3 separate regions of the Homo sapiens genome follow, and all the other regions are linked to region 1. Evidence: promoter capture Hi-C in 16 types of primary human blood cells and fetal thymus (Javierre and others, 2016). All regions are on one chromosome and are shown on one strand. The core of a region is centred on a gene start or on the middle of the fragment in contact, and the rest is flanking DNA. Distances in the headings are between cores, read along the strand shown.

Evidence for each region. Contacts are between HindIII fragments. The CHiCAGO score rates a contact against its expected background, and 5 or more counts as called.
Region 2: a fragment that was not itself captured here is called in contact with the fragment with the promoter of MUC17 in region 1 in 1 of 17 cell types (endothelial precursors); the score reaches 5.2 in endothelial precursors.
Region 3: a contact is called between a fragment that was not itself captured here and the fragment with the promoter of MUC17 in region 1, in 1 of 17 cell types (naive B cells). The highest score is 5.1, in naive B cells.

Annotation. Positions count from the first base shown.
Region 1 is chr7:101,018,325-101,022,327 of GRCh38, reverse strand. It overlaps MUC17 (mucin 17, cell surface associated), which reads right to left and starts at 2,247. Exons shown (of 13, transcript NM_001040105.2): 1 at 2,111-2,247. The coding sequence starts at 2,192. MUC12 (mucin 12, cell surface associated) reads right to left here. Exons shown (of 12, transcript NM_001164462.2): 12 at 3,392-3,733. The coding sequence ends at 3,692. RefSeq lists an enhancer at 3,347-3,496 and a silencer at 3,546-3,840. The HindIII fragment of the contact is 6,139 bases long and covers 1-2,351 here.
Region 2 is chr7:100,919,358-100,923,360 of GRCh38, reverse strand. No RefSeq gene overlaps it. Among named protein-coding and RNA genes, the nearest start is that of ACHE, 25 kb to the right of the region's middle. The HindIII fragment of the contact is 1,909 bases long and covers 748-2,656 here.
Region 3 is chr7:100,936,274-100,940,276 of GRCh38, reverse strand. No RefSeq gene overlaps it. Among named protein-coding and RNA genes, the nearest start is that of MUC3A, 11 kb to the left of the region's middle. The HindIII fragment of the contact is 5,286 bases long and covers 1-4,003 here.

The sequences.
Region 1 (4,003 bases), core at 998-3,497:
GGGTACAGTAGCGTGCATCCGTAATCCCAGCTACTCGGGAGGCTGAGGCAGGAGAATTGCTTGAACCTGGGAGGTGGAGGTTGCAGTGAGCTGAGATGGCGCCACCGCACTCCAGCCTGGGAGATAGACTGAGACTCCTCCTCAAAAAAAAAAAAAAAAAAAAATCTCTCGGGAGGAGGACAAGAGTGGGATGGTGATGGAAGTGCTAGATGGGGACAGAGCCCTAGACAGGGATGGGGGGAGGGCAAAGGGATACCTGCCATGGACAGGTGACTGAGCACCCAAGCCTTGGTGGCCCTCATGCTGGGTGTAGGGATGAGAGGGCATCTGTGATGGCAGGGCCGGGCTGGGCAAACAGACAGGACATTGTGTTTTGTTGACAAGCAATATAACCAGGTGATCTGCAGGATGAGAGGGTGTGTCTGCTGGGAAGGACCAGGCTGAGGCCACTGCAGCTCTCTCTCTAGACCCACGCCCTGCCCTGGTATCCCCAGCCCCATGACTTCAGCAGGGGTGAGGCTCTGGGTCCCTGGAGAAGGGACATGGAAAGGGTCAGAGGCTGCCCAAAGCTGGCCAGGGTCCCAAAGGACAGCCAATGCCAGGCACAGAGACGGAGGAGCCACAGAATCCTGGAGAGTAGGAACAGGGTCTGAGAAGTCACATTCTACAAAGGCAGACTGAGGCTAGGGATGAAATCAATGATAACACGCAGAAAGTGGGGAGAGGCCAGGAAGGGGCCAAGGAGAGGTGGGGAGAAGAAGAAAGAGAAGAGAGGGGGAAGGAAGGGGCTAGAAGAACCCAGGAAGAGGGAAGGGAGGAGCAGAGAGAAAGAAAGGAGGGGGCCAGGAGCGGTGGCTCACCCCTGTAATCCCAGCACTTTGGGAGCCCAAGGTGGGAGGACTACCTGAGATCAGGAGTTTGAGACCAGCCCGGTTAACATGGTGAAACCCTGTCCTTACTAAAAATATACAAAATCTAGCTGGGCATGGTGGCATGTGGCTGTAATCCCAGCTACTCAAGAGCCTGAGGCGGGAGAATCGCTTGAACCCGGGAGGCAGAGGTTGCAGTGGGCTGACATCACGCTACAGAACTCCAGCCTGGGTGACAGAGCGAGGCTCCGTCTCAAAAAAAAAAAAAAAAAAAAAAGGAGGAGACAGAGGTGAGGGTTGGGGAGGAAAACAAAAGATCATGTCTAAGATGCTGTTATTAGAGATACATCACCAAGGGTCTGGAAGGCACAGAAAGTGCAAGGAAAGGAGTGTTTTCATTACAACGAATGGGCTGGCAGATCTGGGTGAGATTGCCACAGGGTGACATCTCGAGGGGCAGGGACCCTGAGGTCTATGGGTCCAGTTTCTGTCTTGGTTCCCCTGCGCCCTTCTCTGGGGGCAGGTGAGGGGCAGAGGGAGCTCCCAGAGAGTCCAGCTGGAACCCACTGTCATCCCTCCTGCTCTGAGCCCCCCGGGGTCCCTGTGGCCATGAAGCCCAAAGCGGCTGAGCTGGAATGATCCTCAGAGGTCCTAATGCCTTGTCTTTTGGGGAGACTGAGGCAGGAGATGAACTGAGCGGCCCCAGGGTGCACAGCTGGTTCATGGCAGGATTAGAATCTGGGGCTCCTGAAACGCCATTTTGTGCCCATGTGGCTATGTCCCGGAAACATTCCTGGGGCACACAGCAGGGTGTGCTGGTGTGGGAGGTGACAGGGACTTGGCGGGAACATTCACTGGGTAAGGATAGACTCTAATATGGGTTGAACACCAGTCTTGTGCCAGGGATCATGCCTCGGGGGGGGAGCTCTTTTCAATCCTAGCAGCTGCCCTGAAAAGCAGGTGTTATTATTCTTACTTTCCGGAGGGGAGACTGAGGCTCGGAAGGGGAAACTAAGGCTCAGAGACCTCAACTGGAAGAGGCTCCAATGCCCTGGCTCTTCCCCCAAAGCTCGCTGGGGAGAGAAGAGAAGTCCAGGGGGTAGGCACAGGGCTGAGCTCCAGGCAGAGGGCACACCCCTATTGGTGTCCTGGAGGCAGCTCTCCCTCGGGGATGGGCAGACAGAGCAGGCTGGCCCCTGGGATGGGGGCCTCTTGGGCAGCGGGGCGTGGGGGTCACTCACCCTGTTCTGCAGCAGCTTGTGGGGGCAAGAGCGAGAGGACCAAGGTCAGCAGACACAGCGCCATGGTCCCTGGCCTTGGCATCGGAGCTCTGAGCACGTCTCACTTGCCTGTCACCCCCAGAGGAGCTGGCGAAATGAGCCTCAGAGAAGGAAACTGATAAATAAATGGGTGCCAGAGACCTTTGGTCCCTGAGACACTGGGGATCAGGGGCCAGCCTGAGCCTGAGTCAGTCTGGAAGCTTCCCTCATGACTTGGGGCGCAGGGCCTGTTTCAGGCCAAAGGGCAGAGGGAGGGGGTGCCTCTCCCTGGCCCGGCAGCCCATAGGCATGAGGGTTATCAGCTTTATCACCCCAACAGAGGGGCAGCCCAGAGGGCCTGTAGGAGCCAGGGGGGAACTGATGAGATCCCCCGACCGAGGGTGGTGGGAGATGGGCAAGAGGGACTGGGCCTGAGCTGGGAAAGGAGGAGGGTACCACCTGCATTTGACCCTAACCCCTAGCAGGGACACCCCCTTTGTCTCTTTTCTAACCCTTCTTATTGGCCGGGTATGGTGGCTCACACCTGTAATCCCAGCACTTTGGGAGGCTGACGCGGGAAGATCACTTGAGATGAGGAGTTTGAGACCAACCTGGCCAACATGATGAAACACCATCTCTACTAAAAATACAAAAATCAGCCAGACTTGGTGGCGGGCGCCTGTAATCCCAGCTACTCAGGAGGCTGAGGCAGGAGAATCGCTTGAACCTGGGAGGCGGAGGTTGCAGAGAGCCAAGATCGTGCCTCCGTACTCCAGCCTGGGCAACAGAGCAAGACTCTGTCTCGGCAAAAATAAATAAATAAAATAACCCTTCTTATTGTCCTATGAGTATGCCCTGAAGACATGGCCATGCCTGGGCAGGGAGTTCTTGGGTTTGGTCTGTGGGTTCCGAGGTAAGCACAGCTCCCATGGCCATCTGGAGTGACCCTGCCTTGTGCAAGCTCAGCAGAGCCAAGTGCTCACTCCCTGGCCAACTGGGGTTGAATCTGAGGTCCTCTCCTGTCCCCAGAACCTGACATTAGGCTTTTCTGCCACAGGGACCTCAGCAGAGGCAGGCCTAGACCTGTCCTGACTGGAGCCGGGGAGGGGGCTCCCTGCAAAGACACAGGAAGGGGCCCAGAGCATTCGTTCCATGCCCCATTCAGCAGCCAGTCCTGGGAGAAATCCCATCCCAGGAGGGCTCTGACCCCTAACCTGACCCCAACTGCAGAAGGAGGAGAAGGAAACCTCTCACTTCTCATTCTGAGCTTTCAGATTTGCTTTTATTGGTAGGGAAATTCCAGAGTGGGGAGCCACCCAGGAGGAGACAGGGGTGCCGAGGCTTCTGGGAGTCTGGAAGCTCCCGGATGGAGAGGCTTACAGCCCCCAGCCTTCCCCAGCAGGAGCACAGGCAGGGGACTGGCCAAGTCTGTCAGCTCAGAGCAGGACCGGCTTCAGGGCCTGACTTCGGTCTCCTCTTGACCCGCCCCGGAGGCTTGTGGTGGGCTCTGTGTTTGCAGCTCTCCTGAACAGAGCTAGATGAGGGTGGGAGGCCCCCGTTGGCTCACACAGTGGATGCTACCATCTCCGGCCTCTGGATGTGGAGCTGGGGGACGGGAGAGAAGAGGTGAGGCCAAGGGGCAGACCCGGGAAAGGGGGAGCCCCAGGAGGAAGAGGGAGCCCTGGCGGGGAGGAGGGAACCCCAGGGGGAGGGAGGGAGTCCCAGGGGGAGGGAGGGAGTCCTAGGGAGAGGAGGGAGTGGCGGGGGAGGGGGGAGTCCCAGGGGAAGGGGTGGCCCCAGGGTGAGGAGGGAGTCCTGGGGGAGGAGGGAGTCCCAGGAGAAGGGAGGGAGTCCTAGGGGGAGAAGGGAGTCCCA
Region 2 (4,003 bases), core at 453-2,952, 98 kb after region 1:
GAGAGTAGAGACATAGAGAGAAGGCGTCAGGGGTGCTTGCCCCCTAGGAAAGTGGAGAAGGGGTAGAGACATGGAGAGAAGGGTTCAGGGGGTTCTTGCCCCTCAGAAAAGTGGAGAAGAGGTGGAGACACGGAGAGAAGGGGTTGGGGGATTCTTGCCCCCTAGAAAAGCAGAAAAGGGGTAGAGACACAGAGAGAAGGGGTCAGGGGGTTCTTGCCCCCCAGAAAAGCGGTACTTTCCACTAAGGGTGAAGGACCAAGGCAGGCATCCCCACATGGTCAGACACCTCTGAAATGTGGGTGAATAATCAGGCAGGCATCCCCGTGTGATTAAACACCAAGGGAGACTCTCTTCCTGAGTCTGTGACCAGTGCCGGAGTTTTGGGTTCATGGATAAAATGCATCTCCTTTGTGTCTACCGGAAAAGGAAAGGAACTGAAATTAAGAGAAGGGAGAGACTGAAGTGTGGCACCAAGATTGAAAGGAGAAAGAGGTTGAGGGATACTAAGAGAGGTTGGAGAAGGGAGTGAAAAAAGGCCACTTACCCGATTTAAAATTGGTGAGATGTTCCTTGGGTGGTCAATCTGAGGACCCAAGGTCGTAGGTGGATCTTTCTCATGGAGCAAAGAGCAGGAGGACAGGGGATTGATCTCCCAAGGGAGGTCCCCCGATCTGAGTCACGGTACCAAATTTCACTCACGTCCGTGTGAAGAGACCACCAAACAGGCTTTGTGTGAGCAATAAAGCTTTTTAACCACCTGGGTACAGGCAGGCTGAGTCCGAAAAGAGAGTCAACGAAGGGAGATGGGGTGGGGCCATTTTTTAAGATTTGGGTAGGTAAAGGAAAATTACAGTCAAAGGGGGGTTCTCTGGTGGGCAGGGGTGGGGATCACAAGGTGCTCAGTGGGGGAGCTTTTGAGCCAGGATGAGCCAGGAAAAGGAATTTCAGAAGGTAATGTCATCAGTTAAGGCAGGAAAAGGCCATTTTCACTTCTTTTGTCATTCTTCAGTTACTTCAGGCCATCTGGATGTATACGTGCAGGTCACAGGGGATATGATGGCTTAGCTTTGGCTCAGAGGCCTGACAGTCAGGAGTTTGAAACCAGCCTGGCCAACATGGTGCAACCTCATCTCTACTAAGAATACAAAAATTAACGGGTATAGTGGTGGGCACCTGTAATCCCAGCTACTCAGGAGGCTGAGGCAGGAGATCACTTGAGCCCAGGAGGCAGAGGTTACAGTGAGCTGAGATTGTGCCACTGCACTCCAGCCTGGGCAACAGAGAAAGACTCCCTCTCAAAAAAAAAAATTGGCCAGGGGTGCTGGCTCATGCCTGTAATCCCAGCGCTTTGGGAGGCCAAGGCAGGAGGATCAGTTGAAGCCAGGAGTTCGAGACCAGCCTAGCCAACATAGTGAAATTTCATCTCCAATAAAAATACAAAAATTAGCCAGACATGGTAATGCACACCTGTAATCCCAGCTACTTGGGTGGCTGAGGCACAAAAATTGCTTGAGCCTGAGAGGCAGAGGTTGCAGTGAGTGCCACTGCACCCCAGCCTGGGCAACAGAGTGAGACTCTGCCTAAAATAAAATAAAATAAAATGTATAAAAGCTGTAAACCAACCACCTTGGGCACCTGTTCTTAGGACTTTTAGGGGCTATGTCATGGGCCTTGGTCACTCATATTTGGCTCAGCATAAATCTCTTTAAATATTTTAGAGTTTAACTCTTTTTGTCAACACATCAGTTGACAGTGATCAGTAGTCTACCTAAAACTGCCTTTGTGAAAATTTTATCACTGAGAAAAATTATAATAGTAAGCAGAGTTAACACCCTCCACCTGCACCACCTTGCCTTTCCCTTGATTATTTGGGGGCTATTGGGCCAAGCTAACTTTGGAAGACATTTTAGGTTATCATTTAAATGATAACAGGCCTTGCCCTGAAACTCCTCTCCTCCCCAAAGCCTTTTGTAAAGCCAATGGGAGACCATCAGGCTTGGAGGAGAGGAGCTTGAGTCCTAAGATTGGCCTTTTGAGATGTCTTTTCAGGATTTTTGCATGTCAGACATCCATGGCTCCACCTGAACCCACCTGAATCCCCCACCAAACCCACCCCTGTGGCCCTGCCCAGAAGCAATTCTGCCTGCAGGAGGCAGAATTTCATCTCCACCCCAACCAATCAGCAGCAAGCACCTATTACCTGGCCACCCTCATCCCTTTGTGGAGTCCTAATTAGGGAAAGGGAACCAGGCTGGTGGAACCAAGAGAAAGCAAAAAGAGAAAGCAGATAAGCAACAAGTCTGTCTTTCTTCATGATCCAGGACACACAGCCCTCCTGCACAAGTAACTTACAACCTTTCCTGCACCCAGCTATCACCAGACACCTGTAAGTTAGCTCACTGCAACTTTGATGTTATCAGTACTACATAAAGCCCTCTTCAACAGAGAGCATAAACACTACCCTATAAAATCTCCAGCGAGTCTTTGTTTTTTGCAGTCAGTTTCTCTTCTGCTGGTAGCCCGTTATCTCTCTGGCAGTGTATTTTCCTACTTTGTCTAATAAATTTGGCTTCCTTTACTTACAACTGTCTTCACAAATTCTTTTACCCCACACCACCAGCTGTCGTTTTCCCATGACACCCCTAACATACAAGCTTTGGACAAGATGATTTGAATGCTAACTCCATCTCCCATGTGGCATGGCGAGCCTTGTGTCTATTAAACTCTTTCTCTACTACAATGCCATGGTGTTTCTTTACGCAGCAGGCAAGAAGAACCTCTCAGGTGGTTACACATCCTCCTGCTCTCCTTTCCAAGCTAGCTGCTGCTGAAGAAGAACTAGAGGCAAAGCTGAGTGCCCTGGTGGAGGGGAGGACAGCTGCTTGCACTCAGAAGCCTGCACAGATACAGAGAGGTCAGCCACCATGGGAGTAGGGATGAGAAATTCTGTCCTGCCAAAACCCCCACCAACCCAAAGACAAAAGGAAAAGTTTGGCTGCCACGAGGAAGGACAGATATGCTGAGAAATTCCATCCCCAAGACCCAGGAGCAAAAAACTTGCCTGAGACAGAGACTAGCCCTGAAGAAATGGAATACCATGCCTCTGTCAGAGGCAGGTGAACCAGAGCAACTCCATCTTGAATAGGAACTGGGTAAAATGAGGCTGAGACCTACTGGGTGCATTCTCAGATGGTTAAGGCATTCTAAGTCACAGGATGAAATAGAAGGTCGGCACAAGATACAGGTCATAAAGACCTTGCTGATGAAACAGGTTTTGTAGCAGGACAAGCCGCAGACACAACCCCTCAGACACTGAGTTAAAGAAGAAAGGGCTTTATTCAGCCAGGAGCTTCAGCAAGACTCACGTCTCCAACAACCGAGCTCTCTGAGTCAGCAATTCCTGTCCCTTTTAAGAGCTCACAATTCTAAGCGGGTCTGCATGAGAGGGTCGTGATTGATTGAGCAAGCAGAGGGTACGTGACTGGGGGCTGCATGCACCGGTAATTAGAATGGAACAGGACAGGGATTTTCACAGTGCTTTTCTATACAATAGCTGTAATCTATAGATAACATAACCAATTAGGTCAGGGGTCAATCTTTAACAACCAGGCCCAGTGTGTGGCACTGGGCTGTCTTTTAGAAATGAAATGTGGATTTCATTTCTGCCTTTTAGTTTTTACTTCTTCTTTCTTTGGAGGCAGAAATTGGGCATAAGACAATATGAAGGGTGGTCTCCTCCCTTAGTTTCAGTAAAGAAGCCGGCCAAAACCCACCAAAACCAAGATGGTGAAGAGAGTGACCTCTGGTCGTCCTCACTGCTACACTCCCACCAGCGCCATGACAGTTTACAAATGCCATGGCAACGTCAGGAAATTACGCTATATGGTCTAAAAAGAGGAGGCATGAATAATCCACCCCTTGTTTAGCATGTCATCAAGAAACAACCATAAAAATGGTCAACCAGCCACCCTCAGGGCTGCTTTGTCTATGGAAAGGCCATTAT
Region 3 (4,003 bases), core at 1,093-3,592, 82 kb after region 1:
TTTGAAAATGAATCAATGTAATTTCTTATGTCAACAGTCTAAAGATGAGAAACCACATGATCATTTCCATAGATGCAGGAAAAGCATTTGACAAAATCTGACGTCCATTACTGATAAAAGCTCTCCGAAAACTAGTAAATAGAAGGAACTTCCTCAACCTATTAAAGGACAGCTACAAAAAAGAAAAAAAAAATCAGCAAAGTATCTTAGTCTGTTCAGGCTGCTGCAACAAAATACTGTAAACTGGGTAGTTTATAAACAACAGACATTTATTCTCATAGTTCTAGAGGCTGGGAAGTCCAAGATCAAGGCAGATTTTGTGTCTAGTGAGATCCTGCTTTCTGGCTTATAGACAGTTCCTTCTTTCTGTGTCTTCACATGGTAGAAGGGCAAGGGTCTTTCTAGGTCTCCTTTTTTTTTTTTTTTTTTTTTTTTTCCTGAGACAGAGTCTCACTGTGTCACCCAGGCAGGCTTGGGGCTCACTGCGACCTCTTCCTCCCAGGATCAATGATTCTCCTGCCTCAGCCTCCCAAGTAGCTGGGACTACAGTCATGTGCCACCATGCCCTGCTAGTTTTTGTACTTTTAGTAGAGATGTATTTCACCATGTTGGCCAGGCTGGTCTCGAACTCCTGACCTCAAGTGATCCACCTACCTCAGCCTCCCGAAGTGCTGGGATTATGGGTATGACCTTATCTGGCCTCTGGGTCTCTTTCATAAGGGCACTAATCCCATTCATGAGGGCTCCACCACCATGGCCTAATCACCTCCTGATATGGTTTGGGTCTGTGTCCCCACCCAAATCTCATGTTAAAATGTAATCCCCAGTGCTGGAGGTGGGGCCTGGTGAGAGGTGATTGGATCATGGAGGTGAATCCTTCATAAATGGTTTAACACCATCCCCTTGGTGCTATTCTTGTGGTAGAGTTTTCATGAGCTCTGGTTGTTTAAAAGTGTGTGGCACCTCCCCACTCTCTCTCTTCCTCCTGCTCTGGCTGTGTGAAGACACCTGCTCAGGCTTTGCCTTCTGCCATGAGTAAAAGCTCCCTGAGGCCTCCCCAGCCATGCTTCCTGCATGGCCTGCAGAACCCTAAGCCAATTAAACATATATATGACCCAGTCTCAGTTCCTTCTTTTTTTTTTTTTTTTTTTTTGAGACAGAGTCTTGCTCTGTCATCCAGGCTGGAGTGCAGTGGTGCGATCTTGGCTCACTGCAACCTCCACCTCCCGGGTTCAAGTGATTCTCCTGCCTCAGCCTCCCGAGTAGCTGGGATTACAGGTGTGTGTCACCACTGCCAGCTAATTTTTGCATTTTTTAGTAGAGAGGGGTTTCACCATGTTTGCCAGGCTGGTCTCGAACTTCTGGCCTCAAGTGATTCACCCACCTCGGACTCCCGAAGTGTCAGTTATTTCTTTATAACAATGTGAGAACAGACTAAAACACCTCCTAAAGGCCCCACCTCCTGATATCATCACCTTGGGGGTTAAGATGGCAACATATATGGATTTCGGGGAGCCACAAACATTCAGACCATGGCACTAAGTACATCTATAAAGCTAAGGTCATTAATAGGTTTTTTTTATATGTTTATTTGTTTATTTTGAAACGGAGTCTCGCTCTGTCACCAGCCTGCAGTGCAGTGGCACAATCTCACCTCACTGCAACCTCTGCCTCCCAGATTCAAGTGATTCTCCTTCCTCAGCCTCCCAAGTAGCTGGGATTACAGGTACATGCCACCACACCCAGCTAATTTTGGTATTTTTAGTAGAGATGGGGTTTCACCATGTTGTCCAGGATGGTCTCGATCTCCTGACCTGGTGATCTGCCCACCTCGGCCTCCAAAAGTGCTGGGATTACAGGTGTGAGCCACCATACCCGGCCAATCATTAATAGGTTTTGGAGGGCGATTCTTTGTTATGTCAAGACGAATCTTTCAGCTGGGCACAGTGGCTCACACTTGTAATCCTAACACTTTGGGAGACGGGAGGATCACTTGAGCCCAGGAGTTCAAGACCAGCCTGGGCAACATAGTGAGACACTGTTTTAAAAAAAAAAAATCACTGTGATTAAATGCAGCAGTGCAGAATTGCTTTTGGTTTACTATTTTGACAAGAGCCATCCACTGGTCTCATCCTAACATTTCTTATTCTATAGGTTAGGAAGTCAGTGTGGGAATTCTGCAGGGTGGTGAGGATATTAATCTCAATTTTACACTTAGATATTAGGAAAGTGACCATAGGAAGTTTGTGGGCACAGGGGCCTATAGTGAGGCAAAGTCAGGGTATAACTACATTTATCAGGGCTTTTGTTAAAAAGTCAAGAAAGGTCGGGCATGGTGGCTGACACCCATAATCCCAGCACTTTGGGAGGCTGACGCTGGCAGATCACTCGAGGTCAGGAGTTTGAGACCAGCCTGGCCCCCGTCTCTACTAAAAACACAAAAAAATTAGTCGGGCATGGTGGCACACACCTGTAATCCTGGCTACCCGGAAGGCTGAGTCAGGAGAATCACTTGAACCCGGGAAGCAGAGGTTGCAGTGAGCTGAGATGGCCCCACTGCACTCCAGCCTGGGCGACAGAGTGCGACTCCACCTCAAAAAAAAAAAAAAAAAAAAAAGTCAAAAAAAAAGACCAGGTATAGTGGCTCATGCCTGAAATCTCAGCACTTTGGGAGGCAGAGGCTAGAGGATCCCTTGAGGTCAGAAGTTGGAGACCGGCCTGGGCAACATAGTGAGACCTCATCTCTACCAAAAAAAAAAAAATTTTAAATTATCTGTGTGTGTTGGTGTAGTGTGTGCCTATAGTCACAGCTACTAAGGAAGCTGAGGCAGGAGGATTGCTTGAGCCCAGGAGTCTGAGACTGCAGTGAGCCATGATCATGCCACTCCACTCCAGCCTGGGTGGCAGAGCAAGACTTTCCTCATATATTTAAAAAAAAAAAAACAGATGGCAGCAAGGCTGTGGAGAAAAGGGAACACTCATTCACTGTTGGTCAGAATGTAAATTGTTCAGCCATTACGAAGAGCAGTTCGGATATTTCTCAAAGAACTATGAGTCGAAGTACCAACCAACCCAGCAACCCCACTACTGGGTAACTATCCCCCCAAAAAATAAATTGTTCTACCAAAAGGACACCTGCACCCATGGCACAACAGTATTCACAATAGAAAAGACATGGAATCAACCTAGATGCCCATCTATGGTGAAAAATACAGTATACATACACCATGGATTACTACACAGCCATAAAAAAGAACAAAATCATGTCCATTGCAGCAACGGGGATACAGCTGGAAACCACTAGTCTGAGCTAACTAACGCAGAAACAAAAAACCAAATAACGCTTATTCTCACTTATAAGTGGGAGCTAAATATTGGGTGCACATGGACATAAAAATAAAAACAATAGACACAGGGACTATTAGAGGTAGAAGAGAAGGAGCAGGGCAAGGGCTGAAAAAATGATCTACTGGATACTATGCTCACTACCTTGGTGACATATTCATTCATACCCCAAAACTCAGCATCACATCATATACCTTTGTAACAAACCTGCACTTGCATCCCCTTTTTCTAAAATATTAATAGAAGTTGGCTGGCCAGGCGTGGTGGCTCACGCCTGTAATCCCAGCACTTTGGGAGGCCGAGGCGGGCGGAGGTCAGGAGTTCGAGACCAGCCTGGCCACTGTGGTGAAACCCTGTCTCTGCTAAAAATACAAAAATTAGCCTGGTGTGGTGGCAGGCGCCTGTAATCCCAGCTGCTCGGGAGGCTGAGGCAGGAGAATCACTTGAACCCGGGAGGTGGAGGTTGCAGTAAGCCCGGATCGTGCCACTGCACTTTAGCCTGGGTGACAGAGTGAGACCCTGTCTTGAAAGAAAGAAAAAAAGAGAGAAAGAGAGAAAGAGAGAGAGAAAGAAAGAGAGAAAGAACAGAAAAAAAGAAAGAAAGAAAGAAAGAAGAAAGAGAAAAAGAAAATTAGTTCTTCAGTTGCATTATCCATAT